Linked DNA regions of Homo sapiens: all the other regions are linked to region 5. The links are contacts of gene promoters, found by promoter capture Hi-C in blood cells and fetal thymus (Javierre and others, 2016). All regions are on one chromosome and are shown on one strand. The core of a region is centred on a gene start or on the middle of the fragment in contact, and the rest is flanking DNA. Distances in the headings are between cores, read along the strand shown.

Region 1 (3,637 bases), core at 102-2,601, 470 kb after region 5:
CCTGTAAGCCCTAAAGAAATGGGCCATAAATGGTAATGTATGTAGCTGGAAGTGACATGATAGCTTAGGGTTTGCCTAGCTTCTGCTGTGAGAAGAAAGGCTGACTAAGATGGCATGATGTAACGCAATCATGAAACAGAACAAGGTTCAAAGTGGATGATTGTTTACGGTCAGACCATGATGAAAGGCAATAAAATGTTTATAAAACCACTGGTTAAACTGTTGTTATAAACTGATTAAAATCATCAGGCTAGAATACTGTAAGAGGTTATAGTCATTTCTTCTTACTGAGTGGAAATGAAGCTGCTAATTAGTAAGATCTGTAAAAGAATTCTTTTATAATATTGAATCATACGATATTACTTTCCAATGTTATTTTTATAGCATTGAATCATATAATATTACTTCCCAAAAAGAGTCCAGGAAGTAACTAATTGCATACTTCTAATTATCTAATGGAGATACTAAGACCCAGAGAACGCAAGAACTTGCCCAACCAACACAGTGAGTTATTGGTATGGTTAATTAGTGATTCTTTAGCTTTCATGAGATGAAGTAATTTGTGTTTCTCAAACTGTTTTATGGACATATTTTTCTAACATAAAATAACTTCACAGTTAAATTCTCTAAAAGCTTAAAAGTTTACTTGCCATGTAAATTGTTTCCAATTAGCTTTCATCTATTTTATCCTGTAAATCCCAATACAAGGTATAATATATTATTGATGTCTTCCTGGCAGAGTTATGTTTCTTCTAGGGCCATCTGCAAAGTTAGGAGGGCAGTGAAAATTTTGTAAGGCTCACTGTAATATTTTCATGAGAGACTGGTATGAAGTATTCTAAGAAATAATGTCTTTCTTGGCCAGGCACGGTGGCTCATGCCTGTAATCCCAGCACTTTGGGAGGCCAAGGTGGGCGGATCACCTGAGGTCAGGAGTTCGAGACCAGCCTGACCACCATGGAGAAACCCCATCTCTACTAAAAATACAAAATTAGCCAGGCGTGGTGGCGCATGCTTGTAATCACAGCTACTCAGGAGGCTGAGGCAGGAGAATTGCTTGAACCCGGGAGGCAGAGGTTGCATTGAGCTGAGATCGCCCCATTGCATTCCAGCCTGGGCAGCAACAGACTCTGTCTAAAAAAAAAAAAGAAATAAGGTCTTTCTTTCTCTTCGTGGCAATTTTTACTATAAAGTATTAAAGCTATAAATAAAAGTAACTCTGTAAAATTATATTTCTTGTTTCTTTTTCTTATTTTCTTTGAGACAGGTTCTCACTCTGTTGCCCATGTTGGAATCCTGGAGTGCAGTGGCATGATCTTGGCTCACTGCAACCTCTGCCTCCCAGGCTCAAGCCATCTTCCTACCTCAGCCTCCTGAGTTGTCGGGACTAACAGCATGTGCCACCATGCCTGGTTGTTATTTTTGCGTTTTTGTAGAGATAGAGTCTTGCCATGTTGGCCAGGTTGGTCTTAAACTCCTTGGCTCAAGCCATCTGGCTACCTCGGCCTCCCAAAGTGCTGGGATTACAGGCGTGAGCCACCAAGCCCAGCCTAACGTTACATTTCTTTCTTTCTTTTTCTTTCCTTTTTTTTTTTTTTGAGACAGACTCTCACTCTGCTGCCCAGGCTGGAGTGCAGTGGCATGATCTTGTCTCACTACAACCTCTGTCTCCCAGGTTCAAGCAATTCTCGTGCCTCAGCCTCCCCAGTAGCTAGGATTACAGGCACCCACCACCACCCCCAGCTAACTTTTTATATTATTAGTAGAGACAGGGTTTCACCATGTTGGCTGGGCTGGTCTTGAACTCCTGACCTGAAGTGATCCACCCTCCTCAGGCTTCCAAAGTGCTGGGATTACAGGCATGAGCCATGGTGCCCGGCTATATTTCTAAGTTTATTTTGCTTCATATACCAGGAACCGTAGTTTGTTTCACATGTGGTCTTGAAAATAGTTTGTTCTGTTCTGATTATAAGTAACATGTGTTTATTGCTTTTTTTTAAAAAAGGGTAAATATCCAGGTGCAGTGGCATGTGCTTGTAGTCCCAGCTACTCAGGAGGCTGAGGCCGGAGGAAGCTTTTGAGCCCAGGCATTTGAGACTGTAGTGAGCTGTGATTGTTCCACTGCATTCTAACCTGGGTGATAGAGCAAGACCCTGTCTCAAAAATAAAATACAATTAAATTAAATTTAAAAATTAAAAAATTGATAAATATAGAAAAAATGTGAAAACCAAAGGGGAACGCCTCCCACTACCAGAGATCATTTCTATTTTCATTCTGGAGAATTTCCTTCTAGTTTTTTTTTAAAACGCATAAATATGGGAAATACACAATTATGGGAAATATACAACTTCCCATAATGAGTTAACACACCATTTACGATTTTGTGTCCTGCTAGTCTGTCATTATGTCATTAGCGTTTATCCCTTGCATAAAATGCTTCTCAGATTACTAAATGGCAACATACTATAATATTGAACTTTGTGGATATCCAACAATGATTTTAATCACTATTCTCTTACTATTTGTGTATTTTTTGTTTCCTTTCCTATTTTAATTATGATGCAGTGAATAGTTCTGTATGTAATTTTTGCACGCATTTCTGATTATGTTCATAGTAAATATACATTGTCTTAAACAAATGGTTAGGCTTAGATTTTCCTGGAATAACTCTGGAGCCATATACAAATGGGCAGCTGGACCTTTTTCTATAGAACTGTAAAAGACTTAAACCCACATAAAACTGGAGTATTTACACATCACACCTTAGAACTTGGAATATGTCAACATGCTAGCCTATTAGTTAACGCCATTCATAACGACCACTTGGAAATTCTTGGCTCTAACCTGAAGCTACGTGCTATGAAGGAACGCAGGCCTCGGTCTCCAGTTTGTGCCTTAACTGATCAGCATTCCTTAGTAAATTGTTCTCTGCGTAGTCCGATGATTACTATAGCTGCCTTCTTCATATCAATTGTGAGACACATGCAGGGGAATTTTCAGATTTACGATAGAGAGCTACCAATATTTCATCATCAGCACCACAACTGTCATACATATTAAAAACCTTTGATCTATTAAGTAAATATGCTCGGCACCCAGAGGCTCCTTTGGAAAGTACGGGAGTGGTAGGGACTGCCCTCCCCATTTCCATTGGTTCTCTTCTTCCAGTTCTTCGATTTCCCTGGCAAAATATTTACTTTAAGAGCTCAGGGTGTGGCATACTCACTTTACAACGGCATGTGTTCTTTGTGCCAGGAAAAAATAAAAAGTCCCTTGTGGTTAGTGAAGTAGAGGTGAGGACATAATCACAATAGCCGATAGCGCTGAGGCTCTTGTCACATTTTAGACTCATATTTATGAGAAGAAGATGTAGTTGCTTCCATAATATCCTAAGTAAATTCATCTCTATCTGATCTTTGTGAAAGGTGCAGGGAAATGGGTTTACTCGATCAGAGAGTTCTGGAAGGTTGTTTTGCAATCTCTCTCTTTTTTTGAGACGGAGTCTCACTCTGTCAGCTAGGCTGAAGTGCAATGGTGCAATCTTGGTTCACTGCAACCTCTGCCTCCCAAGTTCAAGGATTCTCCTGCCTCAGCCTCCCTAGTAGCTGGGATTCCAGGCGCACACCACCACACCAG
Region 2 (3,672 bases), core at 938-3,437, 450 kb after region 5:
AACTTCATCTCTACTAAACATACAAAAATTAGCCTGGTGTGGTGGCATGCGTCTGTAATCCCAGCTACCTGGGAGGCTGAGGCAGGAGAATCACTTGAACTCAGGAGGTGGAGGTTGCAGTGAGCTGAGACTGTGCCACTGAATTCCAGCCTGGGCAACAGAGCAAAACCCCGTTTCAAATAATAATAATAATAATAATAATAATAATAATAATAATAATAAAAAAAAACATTGTCATGATGACTTCTGCTAGTTTTCCCCAGTGTTGTATCATAGGTGTTTTCCCTAGAGTTTCCTCGGGTCTGAGATTTCCTTCTTTCTCCTTGTTTAACTGATCATGAATCGATTGAGCTTTGGGCTGCGTCAAAGTTCTGTTTTGCCTACAACAGTTCCACGGGGAACACGATTCTGCTGAAGAAAAAGACTGCTGGGTTCTGGAGGAGTATTTTACCTCCTCCTTGCTGGAAACAGTTAATGCCCTGGAGAATGTGGTCGATGGCCTCATGCAGGCGGAGGCATGTTTTAAAATGGGTAAATCTAGTTTTCTTCAGCAGTGGCATGAATCGTAGGAGATCTGCTCAAATGCTAACCAGCTAACTTCTCTGAGGCCAAATACTTGCTGTCTTCAGCCTCTGGTTCTTCATTATGAAGTGAAGGATTTTGTCAGGTTATCTGTAGCTTTCCTCCTTTTTCTCCCAGGCCGACATTCTTATAAGTTAAGTCTACTCTTAGAAGTTTCTCCACTAGCCAGGCGCAGTGGCTCACATCTGTAATCCCAGCATTTTGGGAGGCCAAGGCAGGTGGATCACCTGAGGTCAGGAGTTCGAGACTAGCCTGACCAACATGGTGAAACCTCGTCTCTACTAAAAATACAAAATTAGCCAGGTGTGGTGGTGCCCACCTGTAATGCCAGCTACTTGGGAGGCTGAGGCAGGAGAATTGCTTGAACCCGGGAGGCAGAGGTGGCAGTGAGATGAGATTGCCCCATTGCACTCCAGACTGGGCAACAAGAGTGAAAGTCTGTCTCAAAAAAAAAAAAAAGTTTCTCCACTACTTGGTGAAGGCCTTCTGGGTCATTACTGAGGACTTCTCTCTCTCTCTCTTTTTTTTTTTTTAGTAGAGATGAGGTTTCACCATGTTGGTCAGGTGGGTCTTGAACTCCTGACCTCATGATCCACCAGACTCAGCCTCCCAAAGGGCTGGGATTACAGGCACGAGCCATCACACCCGGCCTATTGAGACCCTTCTCTAGGCAGTTTTCTCCTTGAGATCTCCAGAATCACAATAACACTCAAAGTGCAAAGCAAACAAACAAAACCAGAACACAAAGGAAGAGAGGGAATTTGAAACTGCAGGAGTCATATTTACTTGCTCCTTGTTCCATGTGACAAAGGGGCCAGGTCATATTGTGTGATGAAGTTTGTACTTATCAGTCACCTGGCCAAGTCGTGTAAACCAGGGGTCCCCAATCCCCGGGCTGTGGAACAGTACCAGTCTGTGGCCTGCTGGGAACCAGGCCACACAGCAGGAGGTGAGCAGCAGTTGAGTGAGTGAAGCTTCATCTGTATTTACCACAACTCCCTATTGCTCACATTACCGCCTGAGCTCTGCCTCTTGTCAGATCAGCTGCAGCATTAGAGTCTCATAAGAGCACAAACCCTATTGTGAACTGCTCATGTAAGGATCTGGGTTGCGCGCTCCTTATGAGAATCTAATGCCCAGTGATCTGTCACTGTCTCCCATCACCCCCAGGTGAAACTATCTAATTGCAGAAAAACAAGCTGAGGGCTTCCAGTGATTCTACAATATGGTGAGTTGTATAATTATTTCATTATATTACAATGTAATAATAACAGAAATAAAGTTCATAATAAATGTAATGCACTTGAGTCATCCTGAAATCATCCCCCACTGAACCCTCACTGGTCCGTGGAAAAATCATCTTCCAAAAAACCAGTCCCTGGTGCCAAAAAGGTTGAGGACTGCTGGTGTAAACCACACAATTCTCCCCACTGGCCAAACGTGGAACCATCTTTCACTTACCACAGGCCATAATGAATGTGTATACAGTGTATGCTGGGATTGCTTTGTGCCTTAGGCTGTCACTCAGTGTGCTAAGTGGGGCTCTACTAGGCCCACTGTCTTTCTTCCCCAAGGGTTCTGAGTGTCAGGGACACACCTAGCTTGTATGCATTTATATGGTCACCAGTTTCTCCTTCCCCTCCTCTCTCATCATACCCAAGTTTCTGTTGCTTTATAATGCAAAGCACTTCAGCATTCTCTTTTGTTTCCCTGTCCTTGCTCATGGTGATCTTAACCACTTATTATGACTTTTTTTTTCTTATGAAAATAGTTCCCTCTCTGAGTATTTCTGGCAGCAAGTGTCTTTTTTTTTTTTTTTTTTTTGAGACGGAGTCTCGCTTTGTCACCCAGGCTCGAGTGCAGTGGCGTGATCTCGGCTCACTACAAGCTCCGCCTCCCGGGTTCACGCCATTCTCCTGCCTCAGCGTCCCGAGTAGCTGGGACCACAGGAGCCCACCACCATGTCCGGCTAATTTTTTTGTATTTTTAGTAGAGTCGGGGTTTCACCGTGTTAGCCAGGATGGTCTCAATCTCCTGACCTCGTGATCCACCCGCCTTGGTCTCCCAAAGTGCTGGGATTACGGGCGTGAGCCACCACGCCCGGCCTAAGTGTTAAGATTATGAAATATTTACTCTCTGCATACTTAGTTCACCTATAATACTAAAGATACAGGGAGAGAAGTGTTGCTAAGGGGAAGAAGATCTTGGGTTCTAATATAAATGCAATCTTGCTTTGAAAGCTTGGCTCCTTCTTTCTCTGTACCAAATAGGACAAAATAAACAGCTTATAACATAATAAGTGAAGAGTTAATTTTTCAGTGACAGATAACTATTATCTCCAGTTTCTCCTTTGGCCATCTTCCTGTATTTATGAATGCCTCTTCTTTGAAAATAATAGTGAATTACTATACCATTTTTCCATATTCTAACATTTTGCCTTTTTCATCCAAAGCGATATAAGCAAAACAGAGTTTGTGGGTTACATGAAGATCGTGAGAAGACCTGGATTGGGGTCCTGATTCTCCACGCACTGAGGTATTGCTCCTCACAAGAGGGCATTAGCTACGGGGGTCTGCCCACAGACCCTGACCCAAACGACGGATGGATAAAATGTACACTGACACACAGATATTCTGTTTTGCCAGTCCTGCTGAGTGTCTGAACCCCTACACACCAAGAGAGGTTTGTCACTCCGGCCGGTCCGGAGCAGCTCGCCCTCCAGGCATTTGTTTACTATACAATTAACAACAGAAGCTCTGAGTCTTGTGGATAATTAACATGGTTAAGAGAGTAGTTCTACAAATGATTAAAGCTCAGGTACCGCGTTTTAAAGTAAATACCATTAGGGGGCAGTATTTCTGGTCCACCTCCCCGCGAGAGGGCCATCTGGCTCAACAGTTGGTTAACGGAGGTAGGGTAAACAGACTTATTGGGGAAGCCTCTACTGTCCCTAGTATTCTAATTCTCTAAGGTAAGAACTGGCTGCCTTCAGCCTCTTCAATTATTACAAGCTATGTAACCTTTCGGCCTTCCAAAGAGGTTTGTGACTATTCCCTATAACTTTCCGTAATATTTCCTTTTAATATTTCT
Region 3 (3,806 bases), core at 866-3,365, 260 kb after region 5:
GCCTTGGGAGCCCACCCCTTGCACCAGTGTGCCCAGGATATGAGGAGACCTGGAGTCAAACATTATTTTGGAGCTTTAAAGTTTAATGCCTGCTTGCTGTGTTTTGAATTTGTGTCTGGCCTGTTGCCACTTTCTTTTTGCCAGTTTCTCTCTTTTGGAATGGGGATATTTACCCAATGCCTGTACCACTATTATGTCTTGAAAGTAAATAATTTGATTTTGGTCTTACAAGCTCATAGGAGGAAGGAACTTGCCTTAAGTCTCAAATGAGACTTTGGAATTCTGAACTGTTGCTAGAATGAGTTAACACTTTTGGGGACTCTTGGGAAGGGATGACTGTATTTTGCATTGTGAGAAGGACATGAGATTTAGGAGGCAAAGGGCAGAATGATATGGTTTGCGTATTTGTTCCCTCCAAATCTCATGTTGAAGTGTGACCTCCAGTGTTGGAGGGGGGCCTAGTGCAACGTGTTTGGATCATGGAGGCGGATCCCTCATGAATGGCTTGGTGCCTTCCCTACAGTAATGAGTTCACACGAGATCTGGTTGTTAAAAACACCAGACTGTCCCAGGTCTATAAAGGGTTTTGTTGAGCAGATCTTTAGATGTTGTTCTTTGGTCTACAGAGGACAAGAGGAAACACAAAAGCAGGGAAGATTTCAATCATGTGTATGGAAGACTTTTAAGTGGAGGATAATAGTACATTGAAATGGGCTAGCAATAGAGGGCATGGATTTTCTGTACCTGGACTCCTTCTAAAGAGAACAGGCACCCTTTATCCTGAATTTTTTAGAAATTCTCCTGTCTAAAGGTAAATGATTAAGTTATTAAAATGTAGGATATATCACAAAATCAGTGTAGATTAATTCTTTCCAATTTCTAAGTCTACTAGGTGTTGCCATTGAATTCTTCAGTTATGTAGATGTTTTCTTTCTGTTTAATTTTTCTAACTTACTATTTATTTTTCTTTTTTTGAGACAGGGTCTCACTGTGTCACCTAGGCTGGAGTGCAGTGGCATGTTCTCAACTCACTGCAACCTCACCTCCCCGGGTTCAAGCGACTCTCCTGCCTCAGACATCCAAGTAGCTAGGATTACAGGTGTGCGCCACCAAGCCTGGCTAATTTTTATACTTTTAGTAGAGATGGGGTTTCACCATGTTGCCCAGGCTAGTCTTGAACTTTTGAGTTCAAGTGATCCACCCGCCTCTGCTCCCAAAGTGCTGGGATTATAGGCATGAGCCACTGTGCCAGGCCTCTGTTTAACTTATATTCTGTTAGTTACACATGAGGAGCAACTTCCTGGGTCATGAACAATCAGGTACTTATATTATATTCTTAGTTTGGATTGGCTAAGTGTAATTTCAGTTTTTATTTGCATGTTGCAGAGAGACTTTAAAAAATCTTCATGCCCTTGCACGTGAATGCATGTAAATAGTACGGTGGATCCTTGATCAACATCTTAGGTCCATTTTGTACTTTTGCTTTGTTCTCCTCATGGGAATGAGGTGAAGAATTGCTCTTAGAAACTGGCAAATATAAAATTAAGCCATTATCACCATTTCTAAGATTAATGCTAGAGTAAAAACAAAGAGATTGAAACCTCTACTTCTTCAGGGTGGGCCTAACCTGGGCTCATTAGACTTTGTCAGTACCTGCATGCACATCTGCTCCCAATACGTCTCAACCCATCCCAGCACAGAGCCAATTCTGCATGAGGCAGATATCTGCTGGCCTGACCTGGTTGTGGCCTCTTCTGAAAATCCTTCTCTGTGATAAGTATTTTGTATCCAAGGTCATATACTTCCTTTTTTTTATTTTTATTTTTTTTGAGTCGGAATTTTGCTCTGTCACCCAGGCTGGAGGGCAGTGGTGCGATCTTGGCTTACTGCAACCTCCAGCTCCTAGGTTCAAGCAATCCTCCTGAGTAGCTGGGATTACAGGCACCTGCCACCATGCCCACCTAATTTTTCTATTTTTAGTAGAGATGTGATTTCACCATGTTGGCCGGGCTGGTCTCAAACTCCTGACTTCAGGTGATTCACCCACCTCGGCCTCCCAAAGTTTTGGGATTATAGGCGTGAGCCATTGTGCCCAGCCCTAAGGTCATATACTTCTAATTGGGATTAGAAAAGGAAAGATTTAAGGCAGATTTGAAAATGTATTACATTTGTTTTAAGGTTATCATTTTCAGGGATGGGTTAGGCTGATTTGGGGTAAAGCACCTGCTATTCTTTTGGCATGTCAGCAACCCAAATTGGGTTCATGCTCCTTTGACCTGACCCAATGAGTGGAAGTGAGATGTAGGCAATTTGGGAGTAAATTACATTAACATTGACTCCAAAGAAATGACTGTCACAAACAGTGAGACAGGGAAATTGAAATTGGGTAAATAAGGCTTCCCTGAGACCTGCTCCACATGCGAAGTATTTCTGCCCTGGATATTGAGCCCATAATGCATTTTAGCACAAGTTTGATCATAAAAGAAATGAATCTCACAGTAGAGGAAATTCTTCCCAACAGGGTTCCTTTATTTAACTTGCGTGAATTTATACAGCACAAAAGGTCCTTTTATAGCAAGACAATAAGTAAAAGAGATGGTTAGCCATCAATATATGGTACATTATTCTGTGCATTTAGTTTTTAGCAGTACAGAACTGCTGGATATGAGAATAGAGTAGAAATAGCATGTAGTTTACAGCACAGTGAAAAGAAGGCAGGCACTGAAGTTTGTGTTAAGGAATTTCAGAAAAACATAAAAGTTAGTAACTATGATTTCATTTTCCATTTCTTCAACCGTGAATTGTTTGCAGGAGCTGGGCTGTCCCTTGCTTTCATAGTTTTCATTGTTCACATGAATATCACTCAATATTTTGAAATTATAGATTTGTGATGTGACAGAGAGGAGGGTATCAAATCTACAGCCCTTGTGTGACTCCCAGTCACATGTGTGACTCCCAGTGATGGAAAGAGAACCAGGGCGAGGTTGGGGGAAGGCTTGCAATGGGCAAGCAAGATGCAGCAAACTCTTCCAGAGTCAGGTGCCCTGCCTAGCAGCAGCATTGCTTTTGGCAGCAGGATTTCTGTTGGCAACAGCCCTTCCCACAGCCGCAGCCACACGAGCTGCAGGTACGGCGGCAGCAGCAGATCACGGGAGTGCTGCAGCAGCCTCCACAGCAGCCGCGGCAGCAGGGGCAGCAGCTGGAGCAGCAGCCCACCCGGTAGCACCTGCAGGTGGTGCAGCTGCCACAGCCACCACCGCAGCCACCACCGCAGCCACCACCTCAGCCACCACTGCAGCCACAACTTCCACAACCACAGCAACCCATGGTGTCAGTAGAGAGGACTCAGGTGAAGTGAGGAGGGAGGATGTGAGAGGTGACGAGGTCTGATGTTTGCCTCTGCAAGGGACCCTTAAATACTGCTGCTGGGGCTTGGCACATGACTATAGTCACTTCCTTGTTGTTTTGGCCACTTTCCGTGGCAAACTTTTGTTTCCTGTTTATTACTTCCTCAGGGGTGTACACAACTTGATTTTTTATTTCAATTTTAGATAAATTCACTTCTATTTCAAAAACGGAATCAGAACTGACATTTTTTTCAGAAAACACTGCATTGTTTCAATCTGTCTACCTGAGGGTAAAATTATTTTGATAGTAGTCAATGGTCTAAGCCAAAGAGATCCAGCCGTTCCTCGTCTTTCGCAAATCAGTAATAGCTGCCCAGAGGAAAGAGTCCTCTTCAAAATGTATCTGTCTTTTACTCTAAGTATATACATTTTATGTGTATTATCCTTAATCACCCTTTA
Region 4 (4,185 bases), core at 1,481-3,980, 290 kb after region 5:
TGATCTGCTGCTGCCGCCGCACCTGCCGCTCATGTGGCTGCGGCTGTGGGAAGAGCTGTTGCCAGCAGAAGTGCTGCTGCCAGAAGCAATGCTGCTGTTAGGTGGGCTGGCCTGGCCTCCGTCCTGTGGCAGGATATGCTGGGGACTTTCCTTCACCCCATTCACCTGCCTTACCCATCCTCTGGGTATCCTAGCACTTATGCTCTTGGACTGTAACTTTGCTCCTGTATTCTGGGTTCGTGTATTTTCTGCTTTGGGTGTTTCCAGTCTGCCTACGTGAAAAGTTTCCTCTCTAATATCAAGCAGCCAAAACAAAGACACAAGGACAACCTACCTCTTCAGGAAGAGTCCACATCACTGAGCTCAATCAAAGAGGATCATGATTCCCAACAGACTTTTTGATGTATATGATCATTTCATTTCCATTAGTGTGCTTTTCTCTGCTCCTTTTCTATCTTGTATTCCTATTTGTCAATAGCTACTTTCTAAATTTCCTAATAAAATAAAAATATATTATTAAAAGTTTATCTTTGCATTTTTTTTTTGGTTTGAACATATCTCACATTCTAGAAAATCTTAATCTCTCTTAGAAAGCCTTTGGTGGATGCGCAGTGATCGTGGAGCAAGTTAAAGACCCTGAGAGTAGCTTCCTGCCTCTGTTGTTTGTGCCCTCTAGTTACCAAACAGAATACTTGAATGTCCAGCTTCTCTCTACAGTTCGTATTCAATTTTGAGATGTGAGGTTCCTTTAAAAATAGACAAGCTGGGCCAGGCGCAGTGGCTCACATCTGTAATCCTAGCACTTTGGGAGGTCGAGGCGGGCAGATCACCTGAGGTTGGGAGTTCAAGACCAGCCTGGCCAACATGGCAAAACCCCATCTCTACTAAAAATACAAAAAAATTAGCCGGGCGTGGTGGCGCACACCTGTAATCCCAGCTACTCAGGAGGCTGAGGCAGGAGAATCGCTTGAACTCTGGAGACAGAGGTTGTAGTGAGCCGAGATTGTGCTACTGCACTCCAGCCTGGGCCACAGAGCGAGACTCTGTAAAAAAAAAAAAAAAAAAAAAAAAAAAGACAAGCTTCCTGAATGCATTCAAAATCCTGTTTTATTTACAAAGAACTAATTCAAACAAATTCTCAGAAACACACCTATTTTCAAAATGCAGGTGATTACATTTGCTTTAGTTTTCCATCTGCTGGGGCCATTTACTCCTTGCCTGGAGGGCAGAGTCCCATCCTTTCTTAGAAGCCTAATTTTTACCACCCCCCACCACACCATAAGTTCAGCCAACAGTGCACATTTAGAACTGTGGTATTATCGATTTCACTTTCACATTTCCCCAACCACAGAATTAATGCCATCAGGTTGTACTGAATGTGTAGGCATTGATGAACATTGGATTTGGGATTTATCTTAGCCCTCCTGGATTTCTTGTATCCACCTTCGGCTCCACTTCTTATTTTCAAGTCAATTGCTATTTGCTTTTCTGTCTAAATTAATTTAACTGTGATTGGAGTATTGTTAAGGCTTATGGTTTCTTTCTAATTCATTTCAGATATTACTTAATAACAAACTGTGATTTAAGTTTTTGTTCATTTCTTCTATTTTTTTTTTTGAATTCATAAGCCTAAGGGGCCTTGAGATTAGAATAATCTAATCTGTGTCCTTTTGCCAGGCGAGTGAGTCCATTTCTGATAGAAAAACCATTTTTGTGTGTATAGGATCTATGGTGTTTTTTATATCTAGAGAGAAACGTAGATAATAATTAGATAATCCTCAATAATCATATTCACTTGGAAGGTATAAATTGAAAGGCAAATGATGTTTTATGACTCAGACTATGAGTAGTCTATAAAAGCATTAACAATTTTTAGAAGAGACTTCTTTCTGTCGACCAATGCTCATCAAGAGACTCCTAGATATAGGCTGGGCCTGGTGGCTCACACCTGTAATCCCAGCACTTTGGGAGGCTGAGGCGGGCGGATCACTTGAAGTCAAGAGTTTGAGACCAGCCTGGCCAACATGGTGAAACCTCATCTCTACTAAAAATATAAAAATTGGCCAGTCATGGTGGCACGTGCCTTTAATCCCAGCTACTTGGGAGGCTGAGGCACAAGAATCACTTGAACCCAGGAGGTGGAGGTTGCAGTGAGCTGAGATCACGCCGCTGCAGTCCAGCCTGGGCAATGGAGCGAGACTCTGTCTCAAAAAAATAAAATAAAATAAAGAAACTCCTAGATATAAAGGCAGGTTTAAGGGGGTAAGACCAGTTCAGAGATGGAGCAAGTCCTGCTGTGGACTGTCTTTGGGATGGGATGCATTGTGCACAAAGAATTATAATCCTAGGCAAAGAGTGGTATTTGCCATGGTATCCCTGTCAGAGGTGGGAAGCTAGTTCCCCTGAAACCATCTAGAATGGCTCCAGAGCACCGAATCTTGTGGCTTCTTGTTCTCTGTGGACTTTTCATTACATGCTCCCTCCCTCACACTTGGTCTGTTTAGGGCAGTGCTGGAGAGAGTTTCGGCTGAAGCCTCTGCAGTTGGATGGCAGAGGCCATGGCCCGCAGGGTGAATGAAGGTCAGCCCGCATGTCTGTACGGTAAGTTTCCTCATCCCTGGGTCCCAAGGCTCTAGTTTCTCAGATGGACTTAATACTGAAAAAAGAAAAAAAGATAGTCAGAATTTAAAGAAGATATTTCTGTAGTTCGATTGTGCCCAACAAATTGTTTTCATTTTTCAATCTGCTAGTATTCTCACTTGCTTTGCAAATCCCTATAAGCCCTGCCTATAAATTCCCCTACAGTAGGGGATAGTTGACTACATTTGTGCTAATTATTCAGACAGCCTAAAGCAAGACTCCAACTCACAATTGGATTACAGGGAGGTACCTACAGCCACTCCTCTGCGGGGGTGAGATGCAGACAGGTGCCCCCAGTGCACTGCATTGTAAGTTTTGCGCATCTCTCCCAGGTGAGCCCCAGCGTGGTATGTTTAGCCCCTGCCACAGGTTCACCTCCCTGTCCTCCCCTGACTGAGACCCAGTAACATTCAGATGCACTGATGGACACCCCTGCACCTCTTGCTCATATATTCCACCCTGACACCCGTGAGCAAGCCTATGGGTCCTTTCTCCCTGTCTGCCTGGCTGAGACCACTCCCCCGGTGCTGCCTCCCATGTGACCCCCTCTTGGCATGCAGTGACTCCATCTCTTTAGGACCTGTGATGGGAATACACTGTTTTCCTGAACCTATCCTTTGTCTCTTCTTTTTATTTATTTATTTATTTAATTTTTGAGATAAAGTCTCACTCTGTTGCCCAGTGGCACGATCTTGGCTCACTGCAACCTCCACCTCACGGGTTCAAGTAATTCTCTGTCTCAGCTTCCCGAGTAGTTGGGACTACAGGCACATGCCACTGTGCCCAGCTAATTTTTGTATATATATTTTTAGTAGAGTTGGGGTTTCACCATATTGGTCAGGCTGGTCTTGAACTACTGACCTCAGGTGATCCAACCACCTCGGCCTCACAAAGTGCTACGATTACAAGCATGAGCCACCGTGCCCAGCCGCCTTTGCCTCTTCTTGTGGCCGCGCCTGACAGACCATCTGACTATCTCATAATATATGTACATATATACACACACAACACAAACCCCATACCAGGCCACCTGGGTTCTTTTTTCACAAATCTATGTCAACATGAGTATTGAGACCCAGCAAATCCTGGCAGACAGCCACATCTTCTATTTACGCTGACTGGAAACAAACTCACATTTTCAGCGAGTGGGACAGGAGGAGCAAGTGCCTAAGAAGTGTTGGGTCTTGGTGGCTGGAAAAACCACATGTCCCAGAATTCTGCCCATTAGGTTGGTCAACATTACTGGGAAAAGCGACTTGAGGGGTCCTCCCTCAGTGGGGAAAAGCGGATGCCACTTGCCTTAGCGTAAGATGGATGAACTGGCACTTCTCTCCTGACCCCGCTCTTCCAGCTGAGAACCATCACAAGGGAGGGGGCAGTTCTACAGGTGAAGCCTGGGAGGGAAGAATGAGTGAGAGGGTGGAGCCCCAGAGGTAATTCCTAAAGGCTGAGAGTAAGTAAGGGCCTTTGGGTAGCCTGAGGGTATTAGAGGCTCAGGGCTGTTGGAGCTGGAAAGGGAATAGAGACAGAGCCAGATGAGTGCCC
Region 5 (4,053 bases), core at 1,305-3,804:
TTAAGAGTTAAAGAAAGAAGAGAGAAACACAAAAAGTGGCTCAACAATCAAGGATAGGTTTATTTTAGAGAATAAACCTGAGAGGGGCTTCTGGCCAATTTTGGTCAGGAGCACTCTCTCTTACAGACTAAGAGTATTTAAGGGTTTAGGGTGAGAGAGCTTATCACAGGCTTGGAATATTTCTGCTTGGAGGAGAAGTTTATTACAGGGTTGGAATGTCTCTGGTTGGAGGGGAGGGGTTATCTTGGGGCTGACATCGCTCCGGTCAGAGGGAAGGTTATCTTGGGGCTGACATCGCTCGGTCAGAGGGAAGGTTATCTTGGGGCTGGCATGTGTCTGGTGGGAGAGGGGTTTATCTTAGAGTTAGAATGTTTCTGGTCGGAGGTGTCATTTGTGGTTTGTGGTCATGCTGACAGCCATTAGGCTGATGCCCTCTGGGTTGGATTTAGGTGGTTTTTGATCAAGGGGCACTTTAAAATGGCAGTGCTTCTGCTCTGTCAATAGTAGGATATGCCAACCCAAAATATGGCACTTTGGCATAAAGATTATTTTCGAGTCAAAGGCACTTAAAAAAAAAATGCAAAAAGAGCACTGTGGCTTTCCTTTTTCCTTCCTGAAAGCAGGAGATAAAACTTCCGTATGAAAGGTGCCCTCCCTGTATAAGGAGGAAGGGAGATGTTCTCAACACCAGAGACATGGAGTCAAAGCTGAGCTGTATCTGCACAAACTTACCGATTTTCATTTCCACTTTGTTACAACAACCTTTATCTTCTTAGTCACTTCTGCATTAACTGCACTAACCCAAATCTGTTTGTTTTCTCACATTTTCACAATTTACTACTCTTTTTAGCCTTCCCTAGAAAAATGGAGACTCAAAAGCACTTAGGGTCCAACTGTTAATTTGGGTCTCCATTTTTCTAGGGAAGGCTCCAATGTAAATGTAAAAATTACTAAATAAAATTTGTATGCTTTCCTCCTGTTATGTTTTATGTCTCTATTTTACGTCAGTGGAGACTAAGCTCTGATTTTTTTTTTAATCTTGCTCAAATTCCTATCTAAGGGGCCTAGGGATTCATGCCCTACAATCCATAAATTCTCATCAGATGGGTTTTATTTAACCCTATATATTGTGACTTACTTTCCAATCTGACACTGGCATAACGAGACAAGAAACAAAATCAAAATATTTTACCGCAAAACATTTTTTTTAGTTTTTGACATATCTTGAAACGGCTCTGCAAAGCTGTCCTTTGTTGGGGGAAAATCTGCATCTACATAGAATTTCTATTAACATAGCTAGATCATTTTCTTCCAGGTCCTCCCAATCCTAAAGAGATTACGTAAGAATCTAGCACCTTTTAAAGATCTGAATAGGAAACATTTGTCATCCATTGTCTCTAAGGGCAGCCACTATAAGACTTCAAAAGAACCTTGGTCTCCACAATCTTTTATTTTAACCTCAACATTTCCTTTCTATGGGTCCCAGGTCTTCAACTGTCAACCAGAAAATGTTTAAATTTACCTACAGCCTTGGAAGCCCCTGCTTTGAGTTGTCCCACCTTTCTGAACCAAACCAATGTAGTTCTTAAATTTATTTGATTGATGTCTCATGCCTCCCTAAAATACATAAAACCAAGCTGCGCCCCAACCACCTTGGACACATGTTCTCAGGACCTCCTGAGGGCTCTGTCACGGGCCATGGTCACTCACATTTGGCTCAGAATAAATCTCTTCAAATATTTTAGAGTTTGACTCTTTTCCTCATCAGTTTAATTCTTAGGCCCAGCCAAGACCCCAAGAGGGGAGAGGAAATATTTTCACTTTCCCTACACCAGTGTTAAGAAGCCCAAGAACGCAATTCAGAGGGCTTCCCAAATCATTTTGAAGAATGGTAACATCTCTAGAATATCAATTAGATCGTAGGGGAGTACATAAGTCATGTGTACACCTTTAGGTGTTTGTGAAAACCAAGGCATATAAAATATCACATTATTTGGCCTCAGTACATTCCCATACTGACAAGCACTGTACCATTTTTCCCCCGCTCTAAGCAAGGGCTTCCTGGGGGGAAGAGTCTGTGGTTGGGTGTTCAGAAGCAGAGAGTGCTCTCCCAAAGCTAAACGATGCCGCCAACTACTGTGAAACTTAACTTCCCCTCTCCCGGAATTCTCATGGAAGACAAGGTCTGATCAACCGAGGGCTTAAGAAGTATCAAATTGGAACTCATGGAATCACTGGCGGAGCTGATTTACATATGAGAATTCCTAAGCCTCACAGCATAGAAATTTTCATGCCAGATGGTCCTGAAAAAGTTGTTTTAATTGGCTACCAAAGGTTTACCTTGCAAACACCAAGTTCTTAAAGATTACAAAATCTAATAAAGCCGAAGTGTGAATTAAACTTAACCGCAAGAGGAGTCACCTGCGGTCACCTCGTTTCGCCCACAACAAAGATGTCTGCGCATCGCTTACCGTGGAGCCGTTCCAGTGCGTGGGCCACGCGTCCGCCCTTTTCCGCGTCACATGACCACGAACACTCTTCCGCTACGGCTCCCAGAAGGGGCCAGCCCGCGCCTTTCGCGCTTCTGCCCTGGCCCTCTGCGGGCCGCTCCGCCGGTGCTGTCCCTGGGCGCCTCCGTGCTCTCAGCCAACCACCTCTGAGAGCGCCCACTCGAGCGCCCCGGGAGCCAGAGGGCGGGGGTCCTCGCCGGGACCCTCCTGTGGGCCCAGGGGTGAGTGTTGACGTCTTCCCGACCCGCGACCTGCCGCCCGAGCTGGCTGCCAGGCCTATCGCCGCCGCCGAGACCCTCCGGCCAACAGGGACCCGCGGTGGCCCCGGCCCCCCCGGTAGTGTCTCCCTGACCCGAGTCCCGTCCCCGGGCCTCTTGCCTTCAACCCTGGTCTTTCCTCCTCCCCGGGACCTTGAGTCCCCGAGGAGAGCGAGGGAGAGGAGCGTCTTCTGCAGGTGTTTTTGGGCGAACCTCTTCACCTTGTGTGGTTCGGCGTCTCCTTTTGTGTATTAACCCGGACTTTTCCGACTGGAAAATAGGGGTTTGGGAAGCAGCGGGAGTCCCGTGAGCGTGAACGCCGGGCTTTGCAGGTCTTCACTCATCCTTCCCTGCCAAGGCCCTGACACCTTACAGGCTGACCTTAAACCTGCCTTGTTTAAAAGGAGGTTTTTGTGTTGTTTTGTGGCAAGTACATTTTGGAAAAGAAGGGCCTTGTTGGAAGCCCAGGTTGTGGCATCGCGGGTGGCTGCGGGCCACCCTGTCCGTCTGTGAGCATCCCTGCTCGCAGATGTGGCTGCAGGCAGTTGCTCTCGGGTTTCCTTCCAGGAGCTGGGAAGCCGGAGGAAAGCTGCGGTTCCTGTTCCGCCGAGCTTCTGACCTTCCTCTGCAGGACGTGTGCTACTATTACTATCGTAAAAGAACACCCCTGTCTACCTCCCACAAAGTTAGAAGCAAAGGGCATTCTCGAGGGAAGAGCACCCTTTCAAAAGTGACATGTTTTCATTGGAGAACATTAAAGGGGAAAAAAAAAAAAAAGGTTTCTGGCCCTTCTGCCCAAATATAGAACCATTTGTATTCAGGCCTCTCATCCACCGAGAGACTTAAGATGATCACAAATGTTTTGTCTCCCTGCGTGAAAAACATTTTTTCTGCCTCAATTCCGTTGGCTAATGAGAGCCCAAAAGAAAAACCCTTAGGAAAATTAGGACGATTTAGTTATACTTAGTAGTCTTTTCCCATGCAATTAAATTGCTTGGGGGACCTTCTATCTTTTGGTTTCAAAGGCTTGTATATTGGTTTTGCCATTTTTTCCAAAAGGAAATTGTGTTCTCTCCCTTCCTGTCTGATAGAGCTGCCTCCTTTCAGAATTGCAAAGTTTAGTCTTCGCTCTCCTCTCTTCTGGTATTGAAACTTTTCTGTGGGTTCATAACCTTATTTTAAAGTTCATTAATATATAGTTTTAAAAGTTTGCAGTGACTTTTTAAATATAGTTTCTTTGAAAAAGAACTGAAACAGGGTGTGCAGAGTGGCCCATCTGTGTGAAC
Region 6 (4,147 bases), core at 50-2,549, 310 kb after region 5:
CATTTTATATCATTAGTCAACCACAGTACAGTCTTGTGCCTTCAGTAAAGACAATTATATCTACCACTCTCTCCATAACCGGCTTGGTGATTATTACTAAATTACTCTTCAGCTTTTTCTAGTTGAGATAAAAATGCTTCTTTTAGCTTTCCTCATGGGCCTCTTCCCCTAATCTTTCAGTCATCTTCAAAGATGTGTCTTGAAGCCCCTTTTTAAGATCTTCATAAATCCATTAAGACCTTTGAAACTCCATAAATAGCTTATGTTGTGACAGCAGTTTGAGAGATGCTGGGAAAATGAAGGAATCGCTTCTGGAAGTCTCGATGCATCCTACTCTTTGCTGAATCTCTGTGTCAGAGAAAAATCCTGATTCAGTTTGTATTTTCTACTTTTTAGATTCCAATTTTTAAAAATGGCATTTGGCATCCTATTAGTGGAATATCATGAGTGCAGACAGAGTCAATGATGAATGGACATTTATGATTGAGATTTGGGAGTTACTAATCAATGCACTTCCATATTACTGGCTCTTAAAAACTTAATGAAAGCATATTTAATTAGATTCCTACCAAAAATCAATTTTTAAGAAGCACAGTTTTCAAGACCAGCCATTCATAATAACACCTTTTTTTCTTTGTATATAGGAATAGGGTTTGTCTTCTGTTATGCCTTTGAGCTGTATGTTTTTGCTCATCCTGCTCTGTACCTGGGTAAACTGGTCTCTTCTTTAGCAATTAAACTTTAAAATAGCTTTCCATGGAAGAACCGAATTGAAAGTTGTTCCAGCATTGAGGATGTCAGCAGAGACTAGCAGAGAAGATACGGTAGCAATACAAAGATTTTAAAGGAGTGACTTAAATCTATTCCTCTTGGTCAAGAAGGTAAAAGGATTCGGAAACATTGAAGTATCAGGGGATACAAAAGGTAAAGCTTGAATTTTTCTGCCAAATTTTAGATTTGTTTTCAGCTTTTCATGCCTGTGTGACCCCCTGCCTTTTGAAGAAAGAGCAAAAGGTGTTGATCTGCCAACAAAGAAGACACTGAAATTTTAAATTAGGTTACACAAAATAGTGGCAGAAAGGAGAATAGAAGGATTAATGGCTCGTTTTTATTTCTAGTCCTATTTTACCTAATTCAGTTATAGGAATTCATTCATTTCAACTTAGGATATAATGGATTTGTCGAAAAGTAAGGGAAATATCTGGAGCTGATTAATGTAAAAGTCTTTAGAAAAGGTAAGTGCCTCCTAACCATGTTGATTAATGTAAATAGATGTTATTTTTTTCAATTAGGAAAAGAGAGAGAGATGTTTGTTTATTGACAACACTAAAGGCCAGGAATAGTGTGGTTTAGAGGCCAGCACTTAACCTGTGTAAGAACTCATGCAGTAAGTCTTATATTCTCCATTTTACTCATAAGAAAATTGAGACATTAAGAACATATTACATCTTTAGGGTTTACTTTAAAATAATTTAGAAGCAGGGGTGAGAAATTTCATTGGGAGTGGAGTACAGATGAAACAAGATTGGCCACAAATTGATATTTGTTAAAGTTTGTTTCATTATACTATTTTTTCAAAATGTTGTATGTATTTGAAGTTTTCCAAAATGAAAAAATTTTAACATGTCACTATAAACATCAAGATTCAAAACCAGATTTTGCTGATTTCAAGCTTGTTCTCTCGCTAACAGATGATACACAGAATAATTTCTGAAAAACTGAAGAGCAATTTGCCAACCAGATAGTAAATTAGGAATTTACATTTTATTTTAGAAAGTAATGCTTACACGTCGAATAGCCTCAAACAAGCATATTATATTGAACAAGTGTGTAGTACTGAATCTACATGAATCTTAGTGTTAAGATTTATTAAATGGAAGCAATCCTTTCCTCTGTTGAACAAGTGCGACTACAAAGTAGATTTTTAAAAAATGTCCTGGCATTACTTCATTTAATTTTGTATTCTGAAATGATTTCTTTTTGCCTTTTTGCTTTTAAACAAGATAGCTTCTAAATATTTTGTAGGAATTCTCATCTATTTATAGAGAGGTAAGAATGACGATTTTGTCCATGAGACAGAGTAGATTTACAGAATTTGGGAACTAAGCTTTAATAAGATTGAACTTTAGCTAGGGCAAGGAAAAACCTTTAGCTGTAGCTAATGAGAACCACTTCCACTGGAATGACTTTATGGCTTTAATTTTATGCAGTTCTTTCATTCCTTCACCTCTTTAGTGAAAAGGTCACCTGTTTAATGAAAAGGTTTCTTAAGAAATAGAACCTTAACTACACCATATTTCTATTTCTCAGTATAAAATTATTCTATTGAAGACATCATGCTAAAGGAAAGAAACTAGAAATAAAAGGCTATATAAAAAATAATTCCATTGATATGGCATTCTATAATGACAAACTGTATGGATAGAAAACCAATCAGTTGTTGCCAGGGACGAGGGGTGGGGAGAGGGGATTGGTGGCAGAGAAACACAAGAGCACTGTTTGGGTTGATGTTTATCTTCATTGTGGTGGTAGTCACACAGCTGTACATTTGCCCTAATTCATAGAACTGTACATACAAAGTGTGAACTTACTGCACGTATATTATTTATCAATAACTCTGATTTTTAAAAGTATAAAGATAAATAGATATAGATATATAGTTTTGAAAACATGCCTCTTTGTCCATGAGAGCACAGTGGCCCATGCACTTACCTGAATGTCAACAGGAAGCCCCAGTCCTTGGTTGTCAACCACAGTCATCGTCACGATGGGTTGAATCATCAAGGCAATGAAGGGATTAATTCCAAACGTCAGGGCATAGTCTTCCATGCTCAGATTAACTCCAATCTGAAATCTGTCATTGTACAAATGGAAAGAGTTTTAAAAGGACACACACATGCGCATTCAAATACAAAACAGCGAATTGTGTTCTTCTCAAGGCTTTGGTCTGCTGAGGAAGCCCAGGTTTCTATTGACAGTTTCTTTCTGAAAGCTCTTTTAGCAGAGATAGACTGAAGAAATAGACAAATGGGATGGTGCAATGTATTTTAACATTCCGTGGGATGGGATATAGTACGCTAAGAATTTAAAACTAGTTAAACAATTCTAAAATTAAACCAAATTTTCAAAATACTCTGCAACTAGAAAACATTCAACATTATTTGAGATAAATATGGCTTAGCAAGTCACTTTTAAAATCAGATGTATCAGGCCGGTCACTGTGGCTCAGGCCTGTAATCCCAGCACTTTGGGAGGCTGAGGCAGGCAGATCACTTGAGGTCAGGAGTTTGAAACCAGCTTGGTCAACATGGTGAAACCCTGTCTCTACCAAAAAATACAAAAATTGGCTGGGTGTGGTGGCACATGCCTGTAGTCCCAGCTACTCAGAAGGCTAAGGCAGGAGAATCGCTTGAACCTGGGAGACAAAGGCTGCAGTGAGCTGAGATCGTGTCACTGCACTCCAGCCTGGGAGACAGAGGGAGACTCTGTTTCAAAAAAAAAAAAAAAAAAATTAAGCTTATCAATAAGTGAAAACAGGTCAGCATGAAGAATTTTTTACTTATTTAAAGATTTAATCACTGGATTATTTATTGAGTTAGCAATTTCAGAGTCTAATCAGTGAATATTTCTCTGCAAAATCCACAAATTATTTCCTTTCATAGTTCATTCAATCTGGTAATTAATTCATTTTAAATAATTGTACTGGGATGTTAAATTTAGTCAGTCAAGACTGACATATATAGTTAAAGTTCTTCCATGCAATTTAGCTAAAACATTTGTAATGTGAATCTATTTACAAAATGAACCAAATGAAAAATGTTAACTATTTTTATGTCCCTTCCAAAATTCTTTACATAAAAAAACAAATACAAGCATTTTAAAACGATGTGATTCAACAAAAGGCATTATTTCCATGCAAGATACTACCAACTAAACATAGCAAAACCCATAAATGACCTTAGGTCCCACGTAGTGAATATGACAGGTGGTTCAAATGGGACTTGTAATTTCAGGTCTTTCTTGTTCAGCTAACAGTTTTTCCCTTGAACAAATGTGGAACTACATTGATGCTTTTAAAACTTAGATGAAATCAAATGGCAGATTTCCTTTTAGTATGCAAATTATTTCATGTTGGAATCTTGATTTA

What was found. Contacts are between HindIII fragments. The CHiCAGO score rates a contact against its expected background, and 5 or more counts as called.
Region 1: a fragment that was not itself captured here is called in contact with the fragment with the promoter of MFF in region 5 in 1 of 17 cell types (activated CD4 T cells); the score reaches 5.4 in activated CD4 T cells.
Region 2: a fragment that was not itself captured here is called in contact with the fragment with the promoter of MFF in region 5 in 1 of 17 cell types (activated CD4 T cells); the score reaches 5.2 in activated CD4 T cells.
Region 3: a fragment that was not itself captured here is called in contact with the fragment with the promoter of MFF in region 5 in 1 of 17 cell types (activated CD4 T cells); the score reaches 5.2 in activated CD4 T cells.
Region 4: a contact is called between a fragment that was not itself captured here and the fragment with the promoter of MFF in region 5, in 2 of 17 cell types (monocytes and activated CD4 T cells). The highest score is 5.9, in monocytes.
Region 6: a fragment that was not itself captured here is called in contact with the fragment with the promoter of MFF in region 5 in 1 of 17 cell types (activated CD4 T cells); the score reaches 6.2 in activated CD4 T cells.

What each region holds. Positions count from the first base shown.
Region 1 is chr2:227,793,407-227,797,043 of GRCh38, forward strand. No RefSeq gene overlaps it. Among named protein-coding and RNA genes, the nearest start is that of CCL20, 19 kb to the right of the region's middle. The HindIII fragment of the contact is 1,441 bases long and covers 632-2,072 here.
Region 2 is chr2:227,771,024-227,774,695 of GRCh38, forward strand. No RefSeq gene overlaps it. Among named protein-coding and RNA genes, the nearest start is that of SCYGR8, 27 kb to the left of the region's middle. The HindIII fragment of the contact is 1,266 bases long and covers 1,555-2,820 here.
Region 3 is chr2:227,584,189-227,587,994 of GRCh38, forward strand. It overlaps the pseudogene SCYGR9. Among named protein-coding and RNA genes, the nearest start is that of SCYGR2, 13 kb to the right of the region's middle. RefSeq lists an enhancer at 2,715-3,216. The HindIII fragment of the contact is 5,155 bases long and covers 1-3,806 here.
Region 4 is chr2:227,609,001-227,613,185 of GRCh38, forward strand. It overlaps the pseudogene SCYGR10 and the pseudogene SLC19A4P. Among named protein-coding and RNA genes, the nearest start is that of SCYGR3, 3.7 kb to the right of the region's middle. The HindIII fragment of the contact is 3,305 bases long and covers 1,079-4,185 here.
Region 5 is chr2:227,322,697-227,326,749 of GRCh38, forward strand. It overlaps MFF (mitochondrial fission factor), which reads left to right and starts at 2,555. Exons shown (of 9, transcript NM_001277062.2): 1 at 2,555-2,731. It overlaps MFF-DT (MFF divergent transcript), which reads right to left and starts at 2,468. Exons shown (of 14, transcript NR_102371.1): 1 at 2,422-2,468. RefSeq lists an enhancer at 2,377-2,426 and a silencer at 2,607-2,896. The HindIII fragment of the contact is 6,653 bases long and covers 1-4,053 here.
Region 6 is chr2:227,630,257-227,634,403 of GRCh38, forward strand. It overlaps the pseudogene SLC19A4P. Among named protein-coding and RNA genes, the nearest start is that of SCYGR4, 15 kb to the left of the region's middle. The HindIII fragment of the contact is 742 bases long and covers 929-1,670 here.